Regions from separate parts of the Homo sapiens genome. Here all the other regions are linked to region 3. Evidence: promoter capture Hi-C in human tissues and cell types (Jung and others, 2019). All regions are on one chromosome and are shown on one strand. The core of a region is centred on a gene start or on the middle of the fragment in contact, and the rest is flanking DNA. Distances in the headings are between cores, read along the strand shown.

The links. The method cuts DNA at HindIII sites, captures the fragments that hold promoters and counts their contacts. A contact is called where the count stands out against the background at its distance.
Region 1: a contact is called between the fragment with the promoter of URM1 here and the fragment with the promoter of DOLK in region 3, in 1 of the 25 tissues and cell types used here (dorsolateral prefrontal cortex).
Region 2: a fragment that was not itself captured here is called in contact with the fragment with the promoter of DOLK in region 3 in 1 of the 25 tissues and cell types used here (dorsolateral prefrontal cortex).
Region 4: the fragment with the promoter of CERCAM here is called in contact with the fragment with the promoter of DOLK in region 3 in 1 of the 25 tissues and cell types used here (lymphoblastoid cells).

The regions. Positions count from the first base shown.
Region 1 is chr9:128,369,594-128,373,023 of GRCh38, forward strand. It overlaps URM1 (ubiquitin related modifier 1), which reads left to right and starts at 1,781. Exons shown (of 5, transcript NM_030914.4): 1 at 1,781-1,822. The coding sequence starts at 1,788. RefSeq lists enhancers at 88-952, 953-1,816, 1,880-1,979. The HindIII fragment of the contact is 22,131 bases long and covers 1-3,430 here.
Region 2 is chr9:128,316,288-128,319,526 of GRCh38, forward strand. TRUB2 (TruB pseudouridine synthase family member 2) reads right to left here. Exons shown (of 8, transcript NM_015679.3): 3 at 865-939. LOC105376286 (a long non-coding RNA gene) reads left to right here. Exons shown (of 3, transcript XR_930377.3): 3 at 1-612. Among named protein-coding and RNA genes, the nearest start is that of TRUB2, 4.5 kb to the right of the region's middle. The HindIII fragment of the contact is 1,882 bases long and covers 380-2,261 here.
Region 3 is chr9:128,945,867-128,948,964 of GRCh38, forward strand. It overlaps DOLK (dolichol kinase), which reads right to left and starts at 1,737. Exons shown (of 1, transcript NM_014908.4): 1 at 1-1,737. The coding sequence starts at 1,437. It overlaps NUP188 (nucleoporin 188), which reads left to right and starts at 1,833. Exons shown (of 44, transcript NM_015354.3): 1 at 1,833-1,885. The coding sequence starts at 1,854. RefSeq lists enhancers at 497-1,059, 1,060-1,621, 1,483-1,552, 1,622-2,183, 1,903-1,952. The HindIII fragment of the contact is 11,289 bases long and covers 1-3,098 here.
Region 4 is chr9:128,419,501-128,422,960 of GRCh38, forward strand. CERCAM (cerebral endothelial cell adhesion molecule) reads left to right here and starts at 1,357. Exons shown (of 13, transcript NM_016174.5): 1 at 1,357-1,574; 2 at 3,368-3,460. The coding sequence starts at 1,378. RefSeq lists a silencer at 743-1,642 and an enhancer at 1,903-2,092. The HindIII fragment of the contact is 34,497 bases long and covers 1-3,460 here.

The sequences.
Region 1 (3,430 bases), core at 531-3,030, 580 kb before region 3:
GATACCCATAGGCCGTCTACTTCATTCCATTTCTTTTTTTTAGCGTCTCACTCTGTCGCCCAGGCTGGAGTCCAGTGGCACGATCTCGGCTCACTGCAACCTCTGCTGCTTCCTGGGTTCAAGGGATTCTCCTGCCTCTGCCTCCAGAGTAGTTGGGATTACAGGAGACTGCCACCATGCCTGGCTAATTTTTGTATTTTTAGTAGAGACAGGGTTTCACCATGTTGGCTAGACTGGTCTTGAACTCCTGACCTCGTGATCCGCCCATCGTGGCCTCTCGAAGTGCTAGGATTACAGGCATAAGCCACTGTGCCTGGCCAACTTCATTCCATTTCTGCCCTGGGCTTTTTTTTTTTTTTGAGACAGAGTCTTGCTCTGTCACCAGGCTGGAGTGCAGTGGCTCGATGTCAGCTCACTGCAACCTCCACCTCCCGGGTTCCAGCGATTCTTCTGCCTCAGCCTCCCGAGTAGCTGGGACTACAGGCGCACGCCACCACATCCAGCTAATTTTTGTATTTTTTTAGTAAAGACAGGGTTTTGCCATGTTGGCCAGGATGGTCTTGATCTCTTGACCTCGTGATCCGCCTGCCTCGGCCTCCCAAATTGCTGGGATGACAGGCGTGAGCCGCCGCGCCCGGCCTGCCCTGAGCCGCCGCGCCCGGCCTGCCCTGAGCTTTTGCAACAGGCTCCAGTGGTCTCCGTGTCTCTTTCCTTATTCCCCTCAAATCATTCTCCATATTGCAGCCAGAAATTATATTTTAAAACACAATTCTAAAATGTCACTGTCTCCCAAAACCCTTCAGTAGTCTCCCACTGCTCCTAGAGACTGAAATGTTTACCTGCTTACAAGGCAGGGGTTGGCCCCTGAGCACCTTTGCAGCTCCCTCTCTAGATGGATGAAAGTCAGGCTCCCTAACTTCCACCTTCCTCTCCATGTTCCAGCATGTTCTCACCCAGAGCCTCTGGGCCTTTTGTCCTCCTCACTGGAATGCTCCTAGAGGTTTCTCTCCCCTCACAGCCACCTAGTTTACTCAGGTTTTAGAGCCCAGCAAGTCCAGTCTACTCAGTTTTCTTTTTGAAGTTCCTATAACTTCAGTTCCTTTATTTAAGTTTGAGGTTGTACATGTCTTAGTATGCTTATTTGATTACAGTTAGTCTCCCCGCTAGACTGTGAGTGCCCTAAAGGCAGGAACCTTGCCCATCCCCTTTACCACTAGCACCGATCAAAATGCCTGGCACAGGGAGGCGCAATGAACAGCTGTTGAACGAGTGACTTCCAAATCGACAGCAAAGGGGGCGGCTGGATAGCGAGTCGCCCGCTCAGGAGAGATTCTGGGTCGGAAATAAAGATCTGGGAGTCATTTATAATTCCAACCAGACGAGTAGATGGGCTGGCCCAAGCGGTGTGTAGACTGAAGAGATTCTAACTCATGCAAGATAAGCAGCTACGTGGCTCACGGTCACGTCGCAAAAAACCTGGGGGCTCTCCTCCGCCTGCTTGTGGTCCCGTACAAGGCGCTTCCCACCCTGGGTCTCTGAGCCCAGTCGGTGAAAGACGGAAGGAGACCGATTCACAGCCCCAACAGCGCCGGTGATAGTCCCTCTGCCACCCCTTTCCCTCCGCTGCCCTCCCCTCCCCTCCCCTCCCCTCGATGACTTCCTCCAACAGCTGACGAAGCTGGATCCCTGGGCACCGCCTCTTCCGTCCGCGGCACCCGGAGACGCCCGGAAATTTGCGGGCGCGCCGGAAGTTGAGGGGAGTTTCCTGCGAGCTCGGCTTCCTCAACATGGCTGCGCCCTTGTCAGTGGAGGTGGAGTTCGGGTGAGTCACAGAGCTGGGGCGCCGTGGGGATGGATTGAAGTCGTCGGGCCCAGAATTCCTTTCCTTCTGCCGTGGGGCCTGACACGGCCGAATCACTGGGTGTCCCAGTGCCCGCTGTGAGCTACGCTACCCGCCTAGGAGAGTCTGAGAGGCCAGTCTCTCTTGGCAGTGAGGCCGTCTGTCCGGAAATAGAGGCGCACATTGGGAGGGAAATGCTCTCTGTGTACCACTCGGTGCCCTGTGCTCCGCCGGAGTCGGAGGTCGTGACTGTTAGCAGGCAGCCTCTCTCTCTTCTTTTCCATTCCTATCTCGGACCAATCCCATCTGTTTGGCATCTGAGCTCCTAGAACCTAGAAGGACCACCCTCCACCCGCTGATTTCATTCTTTGGGCAGCAGTTTCTTTTTACACTGTTATTAAGGTCTTGTTTCTCGTGGGATGTAGTGGCCAGGGCGGGACTTTTTTCTTTTTCTTTCCTAAGACTTGGGGATGGTAAACAGACCTGAGCCTCCTTCAGGACAGTCAGTAAACTTGCTGATTGCCTTCTGCAGAACTGGAGTCAGGTGGAGACACGGGGACAAATAAGAAATCACACTGAAGGGAACTAACAGGGACAGTATAGTATACACAAGATGAAAAATGCAGAGATTGGGACACACACCAGTTACTGAAGAAACACAGAGCAGGGAGGAAGTCTACCCAAGGCACTATTTGTGCTTCCTACAAACAGGTTTGTCATATGGTTTCAAAGCTGAGGGAAACTGCAGAGCTTAGAGAGAAGGCAAAGAAACAGGCCTTGAAAGATGGGTGGTGTACTTTACAGTATCACGTGGAAAAGAGGAAATAGGTAGGGATGTGTGTGTGTGTGTGTGGAATAGGTAGGTGTGTGTGTGTGCCTGTGTGTGTGTAGATAAGCCAAGGTCTATGTGACAGGAAAAGTCTGGGATGGGAATCTAAAACCTCTGCCCAGTGCCTTTCTTCTCATTGGATGCCTCCCATTTCTTTCATGTTTTCCCTTAATTGGGTAGTTCATTCACCAGCCATTTATTGAGTGCCTACCATGTGCCGGGCAGCAAGCCAGACACTGAGGATACAAAGATAAATAGAAGTCTGTCCGTGCCCTACAGCGTTCAGCATTTCTGCCCCTTAGAAGGGGGGTAAGTCTCATGACTAAGTGCATTTTAATTGATATTGTCTGGCTGCTTGGATCCAATTAGAACTGTATTGGTCTGGACTCCTCACTGTTTTGCCTCACTGACCCTTGGCCCAGCTACACTCCCCAAAGCCTGGGATTCTAGGAGGATCCCTGCTTCCTTGACAGGCCTCAGCAGAGCTGGAAAGAGAGAAGCCACAGACTGCTGTGTTAAGATTTATCTGGGCCAGGCATGGAGGCTCATGCCTGTAATCCTAGTACTTTGGGAGGCTTGGGCAGGAGGACTGCTTGAGCCCAAGAATTCGAGACCAGCCTTGGCAACATGGGGAGACTTCATCTCTACCAAAAAAAAAAAAAAGAAGATTTATCTGCAGACAACTTGCCTTTCATCCTCATGAGTCAGACATGGTCTTTGTTTATCAACAATGTCTCTGCTAGGTACTGTGCTAGCTCAGT
Region 2 (3,239 bases), core at 71-2,570, 630 kb before region 3:
AGGCTAAGGCAGGGAGAATTGCTTGAACCCAGGAGGCGGAGGTTCCAGTGAGCCGAGATCATGCCATTGCACTCCAGCCTGGGAGACAGAGCAAGACTCTGTCTCAGGAAAAAAAAAAAATACTGATTCCTGTGGGTGCTGTGCAGTCGGCACAGAGGAAGGGCCCAATAAACGGTGGCCACTGTGGTCACTTCCTGCCTTTCTCCCGGTCTGTTTCTCCCTCTGGCTGAGGGACAGAATAACTCTGCATTCACTCGTGGGGAGACAGAACAGGGAGAGGGGGCATGAGATCATGTCTGCCTGCCTGTGCCTCAGGAAGCAAGACAAGGGGACTGTGACTGTCGCGGCTGGAGGATGTGGGCACCACCTGACCCTGGGGACACAGATGGCTCATGACTAGGGCTTTGTGTGTCCAGACCCAGCCACATGCAGGCCCTGGCCATTAGGTCCAGAGTCACGCGCCTGGCTGCCCCATGATGCAATGATGGTTTTCCTTCTCCGGACCAGGGGTATTCACTGGCCATGGGACCCAGAACAAGTCACCTAAATCCTACTTTCTTCTTCCATAAAATCATATAGTATCTACCTAATAAAGTTGTTGTGGTAAATAAATGTGCATAAAGGGCCTCGAACTATGTCATGTGTGGGAATCACTGAATAAAGGTGGGTGACTGTGGTATTAACCTGTGATTACCTCCGTCCCACCTATCCACTCCCCAGCTGATCAGCCTTGGGGCAGGAATCAGGGCAGGAGAGGAGTGGTGGGACGTGGGTGCCAGGTAAGAAGTGGGCTGGGCTCCTGGTAGCTTCAGGATCTTTTCTCAAGCCTTATCACTGTACCCCCAGGCTTCTCACATCACCTACCAAGTACTCCAGAAGCCTGGGCATCCAACCGATGTCCCACGCCAACCTTGAGATGGGCGAATGCTGGTCCACATACTGGAAAGAAACAAACAAGGTCCATTTTCTCAACTAAATGCCACCCCAGGATGGCTTTGGGCTGCATGTTGACCTCGTTCTCAGAATGGGCCTCATGGAGCCCAAACTAGCATCAGGCCAGACTCTCAGGCTTCCCCGTCATGGAATCTGGGACCCTGAACTGTATCCTCAGTGCCCTGGGATCCAAAGGGCAGCCCAAGATGCCTCTTACTCTGCCTATCATCAGTCTCCCAGTGAGAGGCTCTAAGAAGACTGGCGTAACACTGAAGGTCAAGAGTGCGGGGTTCCCTGCCCAGCTCTACTGAGGAAGAGTCCCTGGAGGAAAATGGAGGCTGTGAGCTCCTTAAGGCAGAACCTGGGTGTGTCAACTCACTAGCTGCTCAGGAAAGAACTACTGAAAGAATAAATGCAGGAATGAGCCAGAAGTGTTTACACTTCTACAGATTAAGAGGAATCTAGGGGAAGAGTCCAGGGTAGTTAAGGGCCTATTGAATCCAGGCCATGTTACTAAATGTCAACACTGAGCCTCAGTTTTCTCCCTTGTGAAATGAAAATAGGACCCATCTCACAGCACTGTGGTGATATCAATGAGGATTGTACTTGGGGGAAGCTTAACACAATGCCTAGTACAGAGTGGCGACTCAATACATTATACTTCTTATTGTTACCATATAATAGAGTCATTGAATATCACAAGTCCAACGGGTTTTTGAGGTTTCTGGTCAAACCTCTAGATTCCCTGACACATGCCTTAATCACATCTAGTGATGGGGACACATTACCAGAACCAGTTCCATTGTTGGGCAACTTTATTCAGTAAAAAAATCACTCTTTCGGCTGGGCGCAGTGGCTCACACCTGTAATCCCAGCACTTTGGGAGGCCAAGGTGGGCGGATCACCTGAGGTCAGGAGTTCGAGACCAGCCTGGCCAACATGGTGAAACCCCATCTCTACTAAAAATACAAAAATTAGCTGGGTGTGGTGGCACACACCTGTAATCCCAGCTACTTGGGAGGCTGAGGCAAGAGAATAGCTTGAACCTGGGAGATGGAGGTTGCAGTGAGCTGAGATCACACCACTGCACTCCAGACTCCAGCCTGGGCAACAGAGCAAGACTCTGTCAAATAAATAAATAAATAAACTTATTCTTTCCCAGAAACCCAAAACCCCTACCTTAGGACTTCTACCTAGGGTCTCATTTCTCACCTGGAGTCCCAGAATAGAAAAAGGGTCAGCAAACTACAGTCCACAAGTCAAACCTGAAGACTGAAGACTGTTTTTTTTTTGTGTGTGTGTGTTTGCTTGTTTTGTTTTGTTTTGTTTTGAGATGGAGTCTCACTTTGTCACCCAGGCTGGAGTGCAGTGGCGCCATCTCAACTCACTGCAACCTCCACCTCCCAGATTCAAGCGATTCTCATGCCTCAGCCTCCTGAGTAGCTAGGATTACAGGCACCTGCCTCCATACCTAGCTAATTTTTTGTATTTTTAGTAGAGACGGAGTTTCATCATGTTGGCCAGGCTGGTCTTGAACTCTTGACCTCAAGTGATCCGCCTGCCTCGGCCTCCCAAAGTGCTGGGATTACATGAATGAGCCACCGCATCTGGCTTGTTTTTTGTGGCCTATGAGTTAAGAATGGTTTTTGCATTTTTCAGTGGTTCAAAATAAATCAAGAGACCAGTTGCAAGGGCTCACGCTTATAATCCCAGCACTTTGAGACGCCGAGGCAGGCAGATCACTTGAGCCCAGGAGTTCAATACTAGCATGGGCAACGTGACAAAACCCCATCTCTACAAAAAATACAAAAATTAGCCAGGCATGGCCGGGCGTGGTGGCTCACACCTGTAATCCCAGCACTTTGGGAGGCCGAGGCGGGTGGATCACGAGGTCAGGAGATCGAGACTATCCTGCCTAACATGGTGAAACCCCGTCTCTACTAAAAATACAAAAAATTAGCTGGGCGTGGTGGCGGGCGCCTGTAGTCCCAGCTACTCGGGAGGCTGAGGCAGGAGAATGGCGTGAACCCAGGAGGAGAAGCTTGCAGTGAGCCGAGATCGTGCCACTGCACTCCAGCCTGGGCAACAGAGCATGACTCCGTCTCAAAAAAAAAAAAAAAATTAGCCAGGCATAGTGGCCTGTGCCTGTAGTCCCAGCTACTCGGGAGGCTTAGGTGAGAAGACTGCTTGAACTCAGGAGGCAGAGGTTTCAGTGAGCCGAGATCTCACCACTGCCCTCCAGCCTGGGTGACAGAGTGAGACCCTGTCTCTAAATAAATAGAATACTACAGTTGTCCCTTGGTATC
Region 3 (3,098 bases), core at 487-2,986:
AGATGTCATGGTCCCCTCAAAAGTCTTTTTGGTTCCAGGCCAGCGGATCTCCCCCATGGTGCTACCGAAGATGGAGGCCACAGTATCACCCACACCCACAGCCAGGACACCGGCATAGGGGACGAGGGCCCTGGCTCCTCCCAGGCTACCCTTCTGTGTGCAGGGTCTGGGGATCAGCCAGATGGGAAGAGACATGCCCAGGAGCAGGTAGATGTGTGTCAGAATGAGTGGTCCACTGTCTCGTTCATCCAGAAAAAGGGACAGGAAGCTCCGTAGAGTGTGACCCAAAGGCTTGATGCGGAAGTAGCGCACATACTCCAGGAAGATGAAGACCGCCAGGCATACAGTGGCGGCTACATAGAGCAGTGGCCGGTCAAAGATGATACCTGGGATGTAGGTGGCTACCACAATGAGGTGGAAATACTTTCGGGCGATGGTGGGGGCCTGGTGCTTCTTGGACTCGGAAGATGACCGCTTGGCATTCTGGTACAGCACCACCAGGCAGGCCAAGGTGGCCAGCAGAGACCAATAGGCTAGGAGGTAGATGCGGGTGTCTGTCTGGAAGAGAAACTGAAGAAGCCAGAGCAGGGGATTCCTGCGGATGAGCCGGTGCAGCCAGGGTAGGACCACACCAAGGCTCAGCACACAGGTCATGAGGTGGAAGAAGATGGAGGAGGCCCAGGTGCCTGAGTCCATGAAGACAAACAGAGTGCTGAAGAAAATGCCCATGAGTACCATCCCTACTACCACCACCAGCAGGAAGAAGTCCACTGGGTCCCCCTGACTTTCCACCAGTGTCAGAGAGCGCTTGATGAGCTGGTTGAGGACAAAGCTAATGCCACCCAATACCAGCAGTGCCTCACCAGGGGTGAAGCAGCGGGGCAGCAGGTACAGCAGGATCATGTTGAGATAAACGAAGATCAGAAGGACTTCCAGGACTTCGATCACCTCCCCCACGCTCAACGAGTGCTTCATGATATAAATGATAACACCTCCAGCCAAGCCCAAGATGACACAAGTGTTGGTTGGCACTGGGCGAGTGATGCCGAGCGCCAACACTGATGAGAAGAGGGCCACTGCCATGCCAGTGGCTGCCACCACAATGCCAAAACGCTCAAAGAACGGGTTCCCAGCAGTCTGGCACCGCTCCTTCATGACTAGTCCAAGCAAAGGCATGACCATGGAGGCGGGCAATAGGCCACTGTTTGCGGACATTCGGAACTGGAAGACGGCGCTTCCCTGCTGTAGCAGCCGGTCCCACTTGTATTGGACGTAGAAGGCCTGCACTGCGAGGGCCACGGCGCACCACGAGTATCGGTCCCATACGGTTGCGTGGATGCTCAGCACCACTGCAAACACTACTGCCGCCTCTGCCAGCACCGATCCACTCAGCGGAGCCCCAGGCCCCGGGGCCGGAGATGGGCACTCTCGGGTCATATCTCTAGACCTGGGGCTTCACGGAGGCCGGGGCGACTACGGACGCCCTAGACTTCGGGCCCCTCAGCCCCGTCAAGCAGAGGGAGGCACTTTCACCCGGCCAGCAACCTTCTCCCTCCGTTCTCCAGCAGCGAGGAGGGAACTCCACCGCAGGTCACTTCTGCGGCCTGGGAGCTGGCGCCCGGCCACCCCCCACAGCCTCCAACCTACGGCGTAGACGTCGCCACTCTGCAGCCTTCCTCACAGTTACAGCCGCCCCCGCTGCCGGCTCCTCACCTCTTTGGGCCTCGCCATCTTGGCACCGCCCCGCGGCAACGTCACGTGACGAAATCCCCGCCCACGCTCCGGGTCCGGGGGCGAGCGGTCACGTGGGCATGGCGTCTGGGGGCGGGGTTAGGGCGAGCGGGCGCGCGAAGATGGCGGCGGCCGCCGGCGGGCCGTGTGTGAGGTGCGGAGCGGGTCGAATGGACCGGGGTGGCTGTGAAGCGCGGTGTCAAAGCCGAGCGGAAGCGGGGCGGGAATTGGAGGCGGGATGTGGCGACAGTGGCAGGGCCAACCCCGGCTGGATGGACGGGCACCGAGACGGGAGGCGGTTACGTCCAAACGGTCCCCGCGCGCGGGGATCTGAAGAGTCTTCTTCAGGAGGGGGGCCGGCTCTTCACCCCTTCCCTCCGCGCTCGGCCTCCCATCTCCTCACCCAGGGCCCTTTGCCTTCCTCCTCTCTCACCTCCGACGCGTCTCTTGGCGCCCCACCCGCGCTTCCTTCTCCGGCCGTGACGCTCCCTCGAGCCACGGGGAGCTTTGCGGTCTCCTGGGGTACCCCCCACCCACGTCCCTGCTGCAGGCTCCCAGTGTCCTGCCCCGGCGTCGAGTGCGCCCTGCTGGCTCCCCGACCTCTCCCGCGATCTGTTCTTGTTAGGATTTTGTTTCGCGTTGAGCGGAGCCACGCTTGCGGCTTCTGTCCTCTCCGCGCCTCGTATCGTTCTTTTCTTGCACTGAATCAAGTCAGCCAGCATGTCCAAATCCTCCAAGAGATTTCAGGGATTGAACTAGGCTTTAGGGACAAGAAGATGAAATATTATATACGAAAACTACAATTCTGACAAAGTGCTTTCTAGCGTCAGACCCTGGTGGAGCGCTTCCCAGGAGTTATCTCATTCAATTCTCGCAACTCCGAGAGGCGCCTTCTATTTCACAGATGACTCAGAAGTCCGGCTCAGAGCTAGCCAAGTGATAAAGAGAGCCTTCAAGCTGAAGTCTGCGTACCTCCAGTGCTATAACCAGACCACCACGCCTCCTTCTGTCTTCCACATTGCAGCTCGAAGGTCTTCGTTCTTCCCACCACCCTCCCTCAAAGTTAAACATCCCCGTCTCTTATCCTTCCCTGTGCCAGCAGTGTTTTCCCCACTTTTTTTTTTTTTTTTTTTTTTTTTTTTTTTTGAGACGGAGTCTCGCTCTGTCGCCCAGGCTGGAGTGCAATGGCACGATCTCGGCTCACTGCAAGCTCTGTCTCCCGGGTTCATGCCATTCTCCTGCCTCAGCCTCCCAAGTAGCTGGGGATACAGGCACCCGCCACAACGCCTGGCTAATTTTTTGTATTTTCAGTAGAGACAGGGTTTCACTGTGTTAGCCAGGATGGTCTCGATCTTCTGACCTCATGA
Region 4 (3,460 bases), core at 107-2,606, 530 kb before region 3:
TCCACGCGGGAAAAGCTGCCAGTGCATTCATTCTCTCGAGGAATCCCTGCAAACCCTCCCAGATGGGTGGCGTTATCAGCCCGATTTTACCCGAGAGGCTCCTGAGGGAAAGGGACCTGTCTGAGGTTGGTGACAGACACCCAGTTCGATCCCATCTGTGGTGCCGCCAGGCCGCTCCCTTTTCTGCTCCTCTCCCGAGAGGCTGCAGAGTTCTTTCCCTCCCAGCAGGGTCCTAAGGACCCCGGCGGTGCTCCAGGGGAGCCAACATCCCCTGCTTTGGAGGACGGACGGGTCGGGTCGCAGTGAGCAGCTCCGTGGTGTCCCCTAGTTCTACACTCAGACCAAGAGAGGGCTGTGAGGGCTGTGCTCTTTTTTTTTTTTTCTTTTTGAGACGGAGTCTCGGTCTGTCATCCAGGCTGTAGTGCAGTGGCGCGATCTCGGCTCACTGCAACCTCCGCCTCCCGGGTTCAAGCGATTCTCCTGCCTCAGCCTCCCAAGTAGCTGGGAGTACAGGCACCCGCCACGACGCCCGGCTAATTTTTGTATTTTTAGTACAGATGGGATTTCACCATCTTGGCCAGGCTGGTCTTGAACTGATCTCAGGTGATCCTCCCGCCTCGGTCTCCCAAAGTGCCGGGATTACAGGCGTGAGCTACCACGCCCGGCCTGGCTGTGCTCTCTTAAAGGGCCGAAGCAATGCGGGTGCTGGCGACCGACGCAAGGAGGTGACGCACAGGGGACTTAAGGAGCGGACCGCCGCGGGAGGACGCGCCCAGCTCAGGGGGACTCCCTCTGCGCCCCCCACGCTGGGTCTCCGGCCCACGCGTGGCCCGGCTGGTCTGCGGAGCTAGCGCCAGGGCCGCCAGAGGGCGCCCGGGGCGGAGGATGGGGCGGGAGCCGGGGAAGCCCGGGAGGTGGTGGCCGAGTGGGCGCCGCCCCTCTGGGTCTGCGGCTCAGGTCGAAGAGTCGGCTGCGTGGGCCGGGGAATCCGGATTCCGGGGGTTCAACGCCCAGGGGTTCCATGAGCCCCTACTGTTCTCGGACGCCCGGCCGGCCCCGACGCACTCGTCCTAGCACCCCTCCCCTGTCCGGTCCTCCGGCCCCTCCGCCGTCGCCCCTCCGGGGTCCAGCCGGGCGGGGCTGCTCCAGGGTCGCGGCTGGCGCGGGTCCCCGGGCCCTGGCCCTCCGGTGCCCCGGGCCAAGGAGAGAAAACTTGAGCATCCACGCACAGGGGTGGGGAGCAGGATCCCACTCTGAGGGTGCACTGCCCCGCCCTCTCCGGGTCTGCCTCGGCCCCGCCCGGGCCCCAGGCCCCGCCCCCTCCCCTCGGCCGGCCCGAGAGCTCCGGGGGCCGCTGCAGCCGCCCAAGCGCCCGCCATGCGCGCTGCCCGCGCCGCGCCGCTGCTCCAGCTGCTGCTCCTGCTGGGGCCGTGGCTGGAGGCTGCGGGCGTTGCGGAGTCGCCGCTGCCCGCCGTGGTCCTTGCCATCCTGGCCCGCAATGCCGAACACTCGCTGCCCCACTACCTGGGCGCTCTGGAGCGGCTGGACTACCCCCGGGCCAGGATGGCCCTCTGGTGAGAGACCCGGGCATTGGCACCGAGTGGGCACCTAACCCCCAGCTTCGCAGATGGCCCCCGCCCCCGGCGGCCCTGTCTGCTCGCTCCCTGCCCAGACACCACCTAGACAGGCCCCTCCCCTCACAGACGGCCCTGCCAGCCCGAGCCGCCAGAGAGGACCCCGAGCCCCCTGCTGGGAGACGACAGACCTCTGAGGCCACAGGCCGACGCGGGACACCCACCCCTCCTTCTGGTCCCCTACTCCTTCCTCTTGGGGCCTTCCCTGGGTGTAGGTTGGGCCCAGCCAGCCCTTTTCACCCCAGCCTTCAGGGCCCAGCTCAACCCCAGTGGGACCTGTGGTTGGCTGGATTTGAAGAGGAGCAGACAGGAACCTCTGAAGTCCACTGGGGCCCAACGTGGCAGGGATCGACCACGCTGGAGGCTTCCGGGCACAGGTTGGGGGTGCCATCAGCACTGGGCTCCGGGCTGTGCAGGGGAGTCAGACCGGCCCCCCCACCGCCCCCGTGCTGGGGCCAGCTCTCTTGGTAGATCTTGGTAGAGGGGCGGGATCCTGTCAGCCAAGGGCAGTCCCCCTTCCTGGAGCCTCTCCCCTCTGGCATCTCTGTACCCCCAGGGCACTGGGATCGAAGGCCACAACCCCTGGTCTGTAGACACCAGAACAGGGAGGAGTCCCTGGCTGAGGTTGGGGGTAAACTGAGAAAAATGACAAGCCACCCTCTTCAACACACCACAGTTGGGCTGGGGGGGTGGAGCCCTGGCCTGGGGAGGCCGCCCACAATTACCACAGTTTGGGAGTTTGTTAGTTCCCACCCCTGTAAGACTTGACACGTAGTCTTCATTTCTGGGGAATTGGCTTAAAGGGGCAGCATCACCCAAAACCTGGGCACTTGGCTAAACCCCCACCTCTGTTATGGGGGCCCCTTCCCCAGGAGAGGGGAGGCTGTGCCCCATGACAGCAGAGCTTGGACCCATCTGCATTCTTAGGGACGCTTAGAGCATGGTTTGGTCCTTATTACAACCTGGGGGTGGAGGAAAGCAGCAGCTCTTCTGTCTAGTCCCCATTCAGAGAGGGACAGGGGCTGGCCTGTGGTCACACAGCCACAGGTCACATAGGTAGGTATCTGCCCACCTAACGAAGGTAACCAGGGAATGCACCAGGTGTGATCCTTAAAGTCGAGGTACTTTTCATCTTTCAAAATGCATTCGTTGGCCAGGTGTGGTGGCTCACGCCTGTAATTTCAGCACTTTGGGAGGCCGAAGTGGGCAGATCACCTGAGGTGAGGAGTTCAAGACCAGCCTGGCTAACATGGTGAAACCCCATCTCTACTAAACAAACAAAAATTAGCCGGGCATGGTGGTGCACACCTGTAATCCCAGGTACTCAGGAGGCTGAGGCAGGAGAATCACTTGAACCCGGGAGGCGGAGGTTGCAGTGAGTCGAGATCATACCACTGCACTACAGCCTGGGCGACAGAGCAAGATTCCATCTCAAAAAAAATGCATTATTCTTCTCTTATCTTTGTCCATGACATAAGCAGGACAGCTTAAGTTATAGAGGGAGGACGTGAAGCCCAGAGAAAGATGGGACTTGCCTGAGGTCACACAGCAGGTCACAGAACTGTGGTGGGGACCTGGCTGTGCTGCCTCCAGCCTCTCTGCTGTAGCACACCTACCCTTCACTGTTCCAAGGAGAGCTCGACCTCAAAGGTGTTAGTGCTTTGGGGTCAAGGCTGCCTTGGGGTTCAATCCTGTGGCTGTGCCCCCTCAGCCTTTTTTCTTCCCGTCCCCAGGTGTGCCACGGACCACAATGTGGACAACACCACAGAGATGCTGCAGGAGTGGCTGGCGGCTGTGGGCGATGACTATGCTGCTGTGGTCTGGAG